Regions from separate parts of the Homo sapiens genome. Here all the other regions are linked to region 1. The links are contacts of gene promoters, found by promoter capture Hi-C in blood cells and fetal thymus (Javierre and others, 2016). All regions are on one chromosome and are shown on one strand. The core of a region is centred on a gene start or on the middle of the fragment in contact, and the rest is flanking DNA. Distances in the headings are between cores, read along the strand shown.

Evidence for each region. Contacts are between HindIII fragments. The CHiCAGO score rates a contact against its expected background, and 5 or more counts as called.
Region 2: a contact is called between a fragment that was not itself captured here and the fragment with the promoter of ABCA13 in region 1, in 6 of 17 cell types (activated CD4 T cells, non-activated CD4 T cells, naive CD4 T cells and 3 more). The highest score is 8.3, in activated CD4 T cells.
Region 3: a contact is called between a fragment that was not itself captured here and the fragment with the promoter of ABCA13 in region 1, in 1 of 17 cell types (neutrophils). The highest score is 5.4, in neutrophils.
Region 4: a fragment that was not itself captured here is called in contact with the fragment with the promoter of ABCA13 in region 1 in 1 of 17 cell types (neutrophils); the score reaches 7.4 in neutrophils.

Annotation. Positions count from the first base shown.
Region 1 is chr7:48,170,024-48,172,723 of GRCh38, forward strand. It overlaps ABCA13 (ATP binding cassette subfamily A member 13), which reads left to right and starts at 1,435. Exons shown (of 62, transcript NM_152701.5): 1 at 1,435-1,529. The coding sequence starts at 1,461. The HindIII fragment of the contact is 8,502 bases long and covers 1-2,700 here.
Region 2 is chr7:47,910,911-47,913,704 of GRCh38, forward strand. The region is part of intron 8 of PKD1L1 (polycystin 1 like 1, transient receptor potential channel interacting); the gene reads right to left. Among named protein-coding and RNA genes, the nearest start is that of PKD1L1, 36 kb to the right of the region's middle. The HindIII fragment of the contact is 1,845 bases long and covers 469-2,313 here.
Region 3 is chr7:48,623,834-48,626,533 of GRCh38, forward strand. All of the region lies in intron 59 of ABCA13 (ATP binding cassette subfamily A member 13), which reads left to right. Among named protein-coding and RNA genes, the nearest start is that of LINC02838, 83 kb to the right of the region's middle. The HindIII fragment of the contact is 4,277 bases long and covers 1-2,700 here.
Region 4 is chr7:48,643,359-48,646,058 of GRCh38, forward strand. ABCA13 (ATP binding cassette subfamily A member 13) reads left to right here. Exons shown (of 62, transcript NM_152701.5): 60 at 1-35; 61 at 1,259-1,396; 62 at 2,059-2,700. The coding sequence ends at 2,154. Among named protein-coding and RNA genes, the nearest start is that of LINC02838, 64 kb to the right of the region's middle. The HindIII fragment of the contact is 2,655 bases long and covers 7-2,661 here.

The sequences.
Region 1 (2,700 bases), core at 185-2,684:
TCTCTGACTTGCTAATTCACCTTGCAGATCTTAGGACTTGCCCACCTCCATGACTGTGTGAGCCTATTCCTTATAATCAATCAATCAATCGATCAATGAATCACCCATTGGTTCTGTTTATCTGAAAATCCTAACACAGCATTGTTCCATGAAAGCAATGGATGAGATAATTTTTGTGTCTCTGACATAATTCTGGCATAGCAGCATAAAAACTGGCTGCTATGAACATAACATGAGAAAAACCTTATGGTTGGAGGCTTTTTCTTATACTAGATTTTTAAAAATTATGACAATTACTTGTAAGGTGTTCTAGATGTTATCTGCAAAGAGAACCAGAGTAGCAATACTTAGGCAACCCCAAAGACCTTTGAGAAGTCACAGGTCAAGGGGGAACATCATATGGGGATCAGGCAAATCCACTTATGGTTGCTGGGCGCCATCCTGCTAAGTAATGGCCTTCACTCTAGTGCTGCCAGCCATGTAACAAAAAATAAAATAAAATAGGCATGCTCTAAACAAATAAGTTTACAAAATAATTGAGTCAGTTTCTTTGCTGAAGCCTGTGTTCCCTGTTTCCTATTGCAAAAGCCATTTATCAAGCATTCACAGCTTGTGAAAATTGCTTTATGAAATAGAAGACCACAAGACTGGGTTGCCTGAAATCCTTCTGACCACAACTGGGGGCAACAGGAACTCAAGAGGGCCTGGCTTCCAAGACGATGGAGCCACCAGCTGGCAAGCTGAATCCATCATGCCACTTAGAAAGTGCAAGTGTTCAGGAATCAAACAGGACTCAGAGGTAATCCACAGGCCACTTGCTGAGTCCTGCCACATCTGCACCCGATACCATTTGAAACGTAGATCCTGATCCCTTTGGAGGAAATGGGTGAAGGAGAAGTATGAAGTGCAGGTGCAGTAGCAGAGTGGAACTTGAGTCACCCATTCCCCAAACTCCCCCAGACACCAACACTGCTTCCATCTCCTTCCCTTCAAACTCTCTGCCATGGGACCACCAAAATTGAAATATTTTGGCAAATTTGTGTAATAACCAATGCTTCAGAAGAAAAAAGGAAAATTCCATCTAATTAATATCCAGAAAAAAAGGGAGGTAAATGGTAAATGTGGGCATTACTTCTTGTCGCACAGATCAGTTCTGTGGGTTCTCGGAAAGGGAGGGCACCCTCTCTGTGTATGTGTGTATGCCCGAGAAAGTCCCTGAAGGCAGCTTTCTGTAATTCAACCCTCCTGAAACACTGAACAGCTAGTGAAAAGATTTCTCAGCAGATGCCGAACAAGAGGGGACATCTGATGCCTGTTTTATTCAGTCACCAGTAATCTCTCTTGCATCACTCACTTTTGTTAGAATTGACTAATAGGCAACATGCCTTCACTTGAGCCCAGCAGATATAAGCACCATCCTTACAGGCTGGCTTCCTGACTGAGAGCAGGGAGCAGCAGGCATGGGGCATGCCGGGTGCCAGTTCAAAGCCCTGCTGTGGAAGAATTGGCTCTGCAGACTCAGGAACCCGGTGAGTGCTTGCCTTGGTTTTCCATAGGGTTCCAGTGAGGTCTGGAGCAAGATCAGGGTCTATTCTTTCCTGCCTGCCTCTGCCTCCTGGCAGGTAAAAACACTCATGCTGCAGGGAATTTGGGGAGGTTGGATTATTTTAAATCAAAACCCGTCCCAAGGGCCAAAGTAGCTGAACACTTTAATGACCAGGATGAAATCAAGGCTGAAGAATTTATCAGAAAAGGGCAAATTTAGAAAAATTCTAAAAACAAACAAACAAAAAAGCAGGTGGAATTGAACTATAATTTGTGTTCTAAGCATTCGTTGTAAAAACTGAACAGTGAATTCTCAGGTTTAAGGAACAAAGCATTTGCTGCATTTAATGCATAAGCAGAATGCTACAGGTACTGACTCCGAAGCACAAGACTGCACAGTGTGCCTCACCAGAGCAGGGTATGACACATCCACTCTGTTATTCTGTAGGGTCACCATCTTTAGTGTTAATTCACATCTATTTAGAACTGTATTCAAATTACATTAGCAAGGTTTTCCTAAGGAGATTGGAATTGTTCAAATGAAACTTGTGTGAATACTTATGCAAATATCCTGTAAGTGTACGTTTTTGTGAAATAGAAATCAATTGCTTGTTATTATGACTAACTTTATTCCTGATGCCACTATATAAACATTAATACCTATAAATGTCATTTTCAGGAGAAGTAGATGTGCAGTAATTTACCTGCATCGTTTCTGATTTTAAGGTCTACAGTTAACCTATGGGAATTTTCTGCTGACAAATGCTTTGGTTTGAAGAGATTCAGTAATTGACATTGAATTACATTTTGCTGAATCCTCCGAGCCAGAATATTCTATCTCTCTGTCTTGAAATAAAATACAAGTTAAAGGAGATGTTTTCTTTTTTATGTGATCTTTAGGATCAAAATAATTTCAGTTGAAAGTTTGTACAAAAGTTTTAAGTTGGCCGGGCGCGGTGGCTCACGCCTGTAATCCCAGCACTTTGGGAGGCCGAGGCGGGCGGATCACGAGGTCAGGAGATCGAGACCATCCTGGCTAACACAGTGAAACCCCGTCTCTACTAAAAAAACACAAAAAAATTAGCCGGGTGTGGTGGCGGACGTCTGTAGTCCCAGCTACGCGGGAGGCTGAGGCAGGAGAATGGCGTGAACCCG
Region 2 (2,794 bases), core at 141-2,640, 260 kb before region 1:
CTCCTGACCTCAGGTGATCCACCTCAGCCTCCCAAAGTGCTGGGATTACAGGCATGAACCACTGCACCTAGCCTCAAGTTGACTTTAGACTTAACCCCTGATAAAAGATGTAATACTGATATAGTTCGGATGTTTACCTCTCCCTAATCTAATGTGTCGAATTGTAATACCCAAAGTTGGAGGTAGAGCTTGGCGGGAGGTGACTGGATGATGGGAGTGGATTCCTCATGAATGGTTTAGTACCATCCTTTGGTGGTGTCCTTGCGATAGTGAGTGACTTCTCTTGAAATCTGGCTATTTAAAAGTGTGTGGCATCTCACTCTCTCTCATTTCTGCTTTTACTGTGTGCTGTGCCTGCTGCCCTGTAGCCTTCTACCATGATTGTAAACTTCCTGAAGCCTCCCCAGAAGCTAAGCAAATGTCGGCACCCGTGCTTACTGTAAAACCTGCAGAACCGTGAGCCAATTAAGCTTCTTTTCTTTATAAGTTACCTAGTTTGAAGTATTTCTTTATAGCAATTGGAGAATGGCCTAATACAAATACCAATTCCTTACTTTATTCATAAAACAACAAAAGAAACCAATGAATATGTATCAAAGTTGCAGATGCTTAAAATTATTATAATAGAGCAAGTCCTGATGTGAAATAGAGATATACTTAGCCTTCTACTTAATCTTCTAGGAGTTAATCCAAAAACAAAAAGGAAAACAGTGAATAAAAATAAAAACTTTTTCTCTCTTTGTTTAGTGAAACTAGGAGGTAGCTAGCATGTTCAGAATACAAAATAGACGCAAAAACTGCTAAAAGCGGCAAATATCAAGCATGCATGAGCAGGAACCGTATTGAAGGAAGAAAACAGAAAACGTCCTAAAGTGAGAACTCAGTTGCCAAAGGGCTCAGTGGCTGTGAATATCATCAACACGCATACATGTGTGTACGCAACACACACACACACACTCCACCAGCAGTTAGTTCAGAAAAAAATGCAACTCTTTAAATTATGAGTAATGCTGTGAAGAAAAAAAAAAAAAGAAAGGAAGGAAGAAAGGAAGGAAGGCAGGAAAGAAGAAGGGAGGGAAGGATAAAGGGAGAAAAGGAGGGAGAAAAGACCATTCAGCATGTACAAGATACTATAAGAGTCAAGAGGGAAAATTCAGGAAATACTCATAATAGATTAAGATAATTTATCAGAAAAACACTGTCCACAAGAACAGGACTGAACAACTTGAGGAATCGTTATCTTCTGAGATGGAAGACCAGAGAGCATCTGGTCTTGGAAGGAAACAAAGTCAACATTTTAGAGTATAATGGAGAATGGAAAGTGTAGAACACAAAAGAAGGGATGCAGAGGAAAATATGAGGAAAGCGGATCAGATGAAAAAGGAAAAACAAAAAAGATTTGAAAAGACAAAAGAGAACTAATAGATGTATGCCAGTCTCCCAAAAAGAAAGCTGACATATTGGAATAGAAACAATGTAAAGATCTAATTCAAGAAATCTTTCCTGAAACAAAGGACACATTGAAAAGGTACACCATGTGCTGGAGAAAGGTGACCCAGAGTGGCCAGCACTTAGACACGTGCTGGCAAAGCTGCTGGAGTTGCAAATAAAGAAATAACTACCGGCTGGGCACGGTGGCTCAGACCTGTGATCCTAGCACTTTGGGAGGCTGAGGCGGGTGGATCGCTTGAGGTCAGGAGTTTGAGCCTGGCCTGGCCTTCATGGTGAAATGCCATCTCTACTAAAAATACAAAAATCAGCCAGGCGTGGTGGTGTATGCCTGTAATCCTAGCTACCTGGGAGGCTGAGGCATGAGAATCACTTGAACCCAGGAGATGGAGGTTGCAGTGAGCCGAGATCATGCCACTGTACTCCAGCCTGGGCAACAGAGTGAGACTGTGTCTCAAAAAAAAAAAAAAAAAAAAAAAGAAAAGAAATAATTCTCATGACAATCACAGAAAAACATTAATCAATGACGGGGAAAAAAGAAGGCTGACTTTGGAATCACCACAAGGTAAGAAAGACAGAATGGAGAATTTCAGGGAGGCTTCTTCAGACAGAGTGTCAGGGCCACCAGCTGAATTTCTGATTCAGTAGGTCTGCAGTGGGCCTGAGAGTCTGTATTCTAAGCCAGTCTCAGGTGGTCATGATGCTGCTGGGCCAAACTTGGAGAACCATGGTTACAGGAGAGAACAGAATGGAAAGACAACCAGATTCCCCAGGAAAAGAACATGTGTCCAAGGAGTCCAGAGCCAGCACACTGTCGTTCCAACATAATGGCAGCAACAGTTTTGAATATGGGAACTTAGAGGAAGCTTATTGCATGAATTTTCCTAAAAAAAATCTACTAGAGGACAAACTTCAGACAACCAAACAGGAACACCATGCCAAAAAAAAGCTGAGTGAGGACCGAATATATTAGCTCTAGAACCGGAACTAAGACTAATGTGGGAAAGCAGGTTGATATGATTTGGATCTGTGCCCCCACCAAATCTCATGTCGAATTGCATTCCCCAGTATTGAAGGTTGGGCCTTCAGCACTGGCGGTGAGGAGGTGGGTGGTGATTGGATGATGGTGGCAGATTTCTCATGAATGGTTTAGTGTCACCCCCAATCCCTGCCACTTGGTACTGTCCTCATGATAGTGAGTTCTCATGAGATCTGGTCTTTTAAAAGTGTGTGGCACCTCCCCCCCTCTTGCTCCTACTCCGGCTATGTAACGTGTGTGTTCCCTGTTCGCTTTCTGCCATGATTGTAAGTTTCCTGAGGCTTCCCCGGAAGCTGAGCAGATGCC
Region 3 (2,700 bases), core at 103-2,602, 450 kb after region 1:
TAGGTTTCTGTTCCCAAGGAAGATAGGGATCATGGTTGTGGAGTGGGAAGCCTGCAGCCTCACTTATTCACCTGACTGGATTCTTTTCCTCCATTGAGGGTAGGTCGTTAGGTTGAGCAGCTGAGCTGAACGGACTCTTGGGCTTTCAATTTAAGATTGTCATATGCTATGAAAGAGCCCTATATGGTATAGAGATTCATGAGTTTACGTGTGAGCACATGATAGAGTGTGTGTGTGTGTGTGTGTGTGTGTGTGTGTGTGTGTGTGGCTCAGTTAATAACAGAGGAGAGCTGGAGTGGAGTGGCACTCACCTAATAGCCACAGGTGGCTAAAACTATCCTTTTGGGCACTGATGTTTTGTCCCAGGCAATTAGGGATGCATCCTCAAATCCTCTGCATGTCATAAATTGAGCACATAATGGTGCCCTGGTAGCTAGCTGCCTTTGTACTTGCAGACACTGAGCATATTCCCAACTTACCTGGAGGGAACCATTAACAGCTGCATGCGGCATCTATTTGCTTTTCTCCTCCCTTGAACCTGATTGACATAGGAGGCTTAAGTCTGACTTGGTAAAAACACTCCTGTCATGGAAAGGAAATAAAACATGCTTCTGAAGCACAGAGTTTACAATGTGAAATACTCCAGGCCAATTTATGATTTTGGGGTGAGGGAGGATAAAGGCTGTGTATTTTGTTGTCGTTGTTGTTGTTTTCTTTTTTCTTTTTTTTTTTTTAGACAGAGTTTTGCTCTTGTTGCCCAGGCTGGTGTGCGAGTGCAATGACACGATCTCGGCTCACTGCAACCTCTCTGTCCCAGGTTCAAGCGATTCTCCTGCCTTAGCCTCCCAAGTAGCTGGGATTACAGGCATGCACCACCATGCCCAGCTAATTTTGTATTTTTAGTAGAGATGAGGTTTCACCATGTTGGTCAGGCAGGTCTTGAACTCCTGACCTCAGGTGATCTGCCCGCCTCAGTCTCCCAAAGTGCTGGGATTACAGGTGTGACTCAAGGCACCCAGCCTGTTTGTTTGTTTTTCTTTCTTTCTTTCTTTTTTATTTTTTATAAAGAAAACACAGCTTCAAATGATTTAAAGAAAATTGTTAAGATTATGAGAATTTACATTTCCTTGAGTTATCAACTGTAAACTTTGAGAACCAAGAATAAAAGTAGAATAAAGTTCAAAGGATCCCATCATAGATGTGTTATATAGCCATCTAAGTTAAAATATAAAGAATAGTGTAGAAGGGTTTGTTTGTGGATTTTTTTCCTAAAAAAAATGAAAGGAGGCAGAATCTTGTTTGAGCTCTCAAGCTACCACTGTCTGAGTAGCTGCAAATTAATGTATCACCTTATGTGACACCATATGCTTTAGTGTGGCAACTTTGACTTAATATATCTATAAACCATTACTATAATCATAACATCTCGGATTAAGATTGCATCACCACATAATGAAGTGGATCATTTAAAAGTGAAATAGATAATTCAGTATGTTTATGTCACTTTCACAAATGGGGAAGGAAGTTTGCACATGAGCACAAAAATAATTTCTGCCATGATGTGGAACTATGGAATGATGTGCTACTGAGTTATATTTTTCTATATTTTACTTTAGTTTAAAGCATCATATAATTCACCTGCTGCTACTAACCACTGAATTAATTCTCTTTACTAGAAATGATTTTAAGAGAGATAGTGCACCTCCATATCCTCAGCGTGTTTCACCTCACCTGCTATGTGTAATTTGTCATCTCATTTGTTGTCACAACATCATGTTGTATGAACACAGCATTGCTCTGACATAATTAGCTGGGAAGACTTTCTGATTCTCATGCCATTCTCATGCTGGACATTTTGGTTAGCTGCCTCTGGTCTTGGAAATTCAGGTCATGAACAGTATCACCCAGAGCTGTCACTTTATCAAAAGTAAACATTCGGCATTCATTTTTTAATATTTTCTGTAAGAATAAACAGAATGCTTTTCACTCACAATGAAGATGGAAAATAGAAGTGTTGGAGATATTTTTAGATGGGTGAAGTTGTTGGGGACTCAGACTCACATCATGAGTCCTGTTCATTCATACACATTTATTGAGTAACCACTTAATTAGAGATGATGAAAATGTGATTCCTAATCTCAATAAACTCGGCATAGTGTACAGGCAGAAACATAACAATGAATACAACACAATATGATAATTGTTCTAAGAGACTGGTGAACGAAATGCTGTGTTGTGCATCTCAGTTTAAACCTGCAAACATTACTGAATGTTTACATAGTGCCAGGGTCTTGGGATTGAGTGGGTAATAAGGCATGAGCCCTGTAAGAACTGGGCTAGACACTCAAATAAAAAAATTATGTAAGAAAGACCATTAGCACGACAAGAAGGTTTCAAAGCCCATGAGGTAGGAGTTAGGAGGAGGAAGAATGCACACACATTGTTTTAGGGGAAGGATTGGCACAGGTAGTTTTATGGGTGAGGAGGAATTTAAATCACGTGTATGCTTAGCCAGCTAATCAACTATGAATGCATTAGAGGTAGTGGCACAGAGATGAACAATGTAAACCATGTTTGAAATAGCTTGATGGCAAGTGGAATACAGGTGGAATCATGCGGCATAAACTTGAAGGGAATCTTTGGGACCAAATTATGGGAAATATTAATTCTAAGGTAAAAAAAAGGCAAAATAATGGAGGA
Region 4 (2,700 bases), core at 84-2,583, 470 kb after region 1:
ACTTGAAGCTTTATTTTCCAGGAATTCAGTTCAAGGTAGTGCTAATATCTTGTATTATTTCTTTGTTTTCAGCTAAAAAAAAATAATAAATGTACCTGTCTTTTTTTGTTTTTATTCTATGCTGTTATAAGATACTACTTGTTACCTTAGCCACATTGCAAAGTATAGGCCCTGCCTCCCTACCAAAAATAGCATGGATAGCTGATATTGCTTGACCACTCTGAAGAGTGACAAGCCTGCTTAATTGCTTCCTGGATTGGCCAGAGCAGCCTGTGATTACATATCACGCCTCTTATCTGTGGGCACAGGTCCATTGCATAACTCATCTTGTTCAGCATAGAAGATTGCAAAAGCTAATCTCTTCCATATATTTGCTGTAGGGTTTATAGGCTTGATGGTTTCAGCATTGCTTCACAGAAATAGCCCTATGCTTGAGATCACAATCCTCTATAAACTTGCTGTCATCAAGTATGGTCACTGAACCAGCAGCATCTTCATTGCCTGGGACCTGTTAGACATGCAGAATCACAGGCCCCAACCTATTGAATGGGAATCTGCATTTTAACAAGGTGACCCGGAGATTCCTATGAACACTGAAGTTTGAGAAGCACTGTCTAAAAATCTCTTGGATAACTGTGGGATGCTAGTTTATTATAACTTCTAGGAGGCTGTAGTCCATAAAGTAGTTATGTTCTATTTATTTCAACAACTGTCATTTAGTGAAATCCTACTATGCAAGAAGCATGCTGTGTGAGACTGTCATTCATGCTCAATTATGACTCTGAGTCACCCTATAAAACAGACATAATTATCTCCATTGGCATACATGAAGACAAGGATCAGAGGTTTAAATATCTTCCCAAGTGTTGCTCAGCTAATGATGAGAATAGTGAGAGATAAGCCCAAGTCCCAGTGTAAAACTCAGGGCCCTTCCATCCGTCTCTGTTAGGCCATGTTAAATTCCTACATTTCAAATATCTTTGGGCATCTTATGATTCCTTAAACAGGGCTTCCCCATGCTGTTGCAAGGTTAGAGCATATCAGGGGGCAGAACAGCAATGCCACTCAGTTGAACGTTGTTTGTCAAATATACCCCATGAAAAATTGTCATCAATAAGCATTCATTGGAGACTCACAAAATTAAGTGTAGGTTGAGAAAACGTAACTGAATTTTTTTGCCAATTAAATGTAGTATGATCAATTTTGTTTAATAATGCTAGTTATATGATACTTTTTTTTTTTTTTTTTTTGCTTTTAGGGACAGCACCTGAATTTATTAGAATATCATGTGCCAAAAAGATGGGGATGCCTAGCTGACTTGTTCAAAGTTATAGAGAACAATAAAACCTTCTTGAATATTAAGCATTATTCCATTAACCAAACCACTTTGGAGCAGGTATAGTATCTTGAATGATTCAGGAGGTTGAATTTTGGTCTGTTCATCAGACCTAATGTAGCCAATTTTAAAATTAATCGAATTGCTTCAATTCACCACTTTATTCAATTCATCTTGTTAAATTTTATAAAATTATGATAAGGATGGTGAGTGTCAGAAAGTTTGTTTACTGTATACCCTTCTACTTAAGATAGATATTCAGTAGAGTTTCAATTTGTTCATATTATTTTGGGCATTTAACTAATTAAATCATGTCACGTTAACCTTCCTATCTCCACCTTACTCAGCCCCACAAGACTTTTCGGGGGGGCTTCACTGTAATCAAATGATAGCTAACTTCTGGGGAAACAAAAAGCGTTTCATTTACTAAGAGTACCAGGAATATAAAAATACATCACGACATATTTCTAAAACCAGGCTTAAGGTATTGAGAACTTCTAGGTGATTTATTATTATAATTGTCTAGAAATATGAATGTTCTTAGAGTTGTGTCCTCAATGGATTTATATATTTATGTGATTTGGGAGGGAATGGTATGAATTAATGATCTGTGGTTTTTAGGGCAAGTTGGCCAGTGTTCTGAGACAATGTCTCCTTTCTAATAAGTGAGACCAAAGGGTTGTATTCTTATAAGTAAACAACATTTTTATGGTTTTTTTCAGGTATTTATTAATTTTGCTTCTGAGCAGCAGCAAACTCTACAATCTACTCTTGATCCATCCACTGACAGTCACCACACACATCACTTGCCCATCTGAGCACTAAAGAAGTTTCCATAAGGAATAAAACCTTGTCTTCCATTACAATTAACAGTCAAGGATAAAACAAGCACGCGCACAATCAAGGAGCTGGAACACACTCTCCAGGCCGTCAAATTATTCTCTTGTTCATTTTCTATTTTGAATCTCCTTGTTAGTTAATAACCACCAAATGGAAAGGTCATTCTTTCTGCAGACTTTTGGGGAGCTCCTCCAAAACATTTGTTCTCTTTACCATGCCAGATGGACACCAGCTTCTTTGTGACAAAGGCATGAATGATTTGACAGTGTCCAAACTGAGACATTCTGGAGCTGGAAAGCCTGTCACACTAGAGTGTGTGTGACATGTCCACTCTAAACATGTCACTTTTCTGTTAAGAAAACTGAGCCCCCTCCCCACAGGTTAAAAAACTTTAGTAACTTGTTTGTATAGAAAATAGTAACAAGGACTATTTTCTATTGTTGTCATCTATTTACTAGATACATGTTTTTAATGATTTTAATGTAAGCTTTTATTAATACTGATGACATTATATGGTATGATAT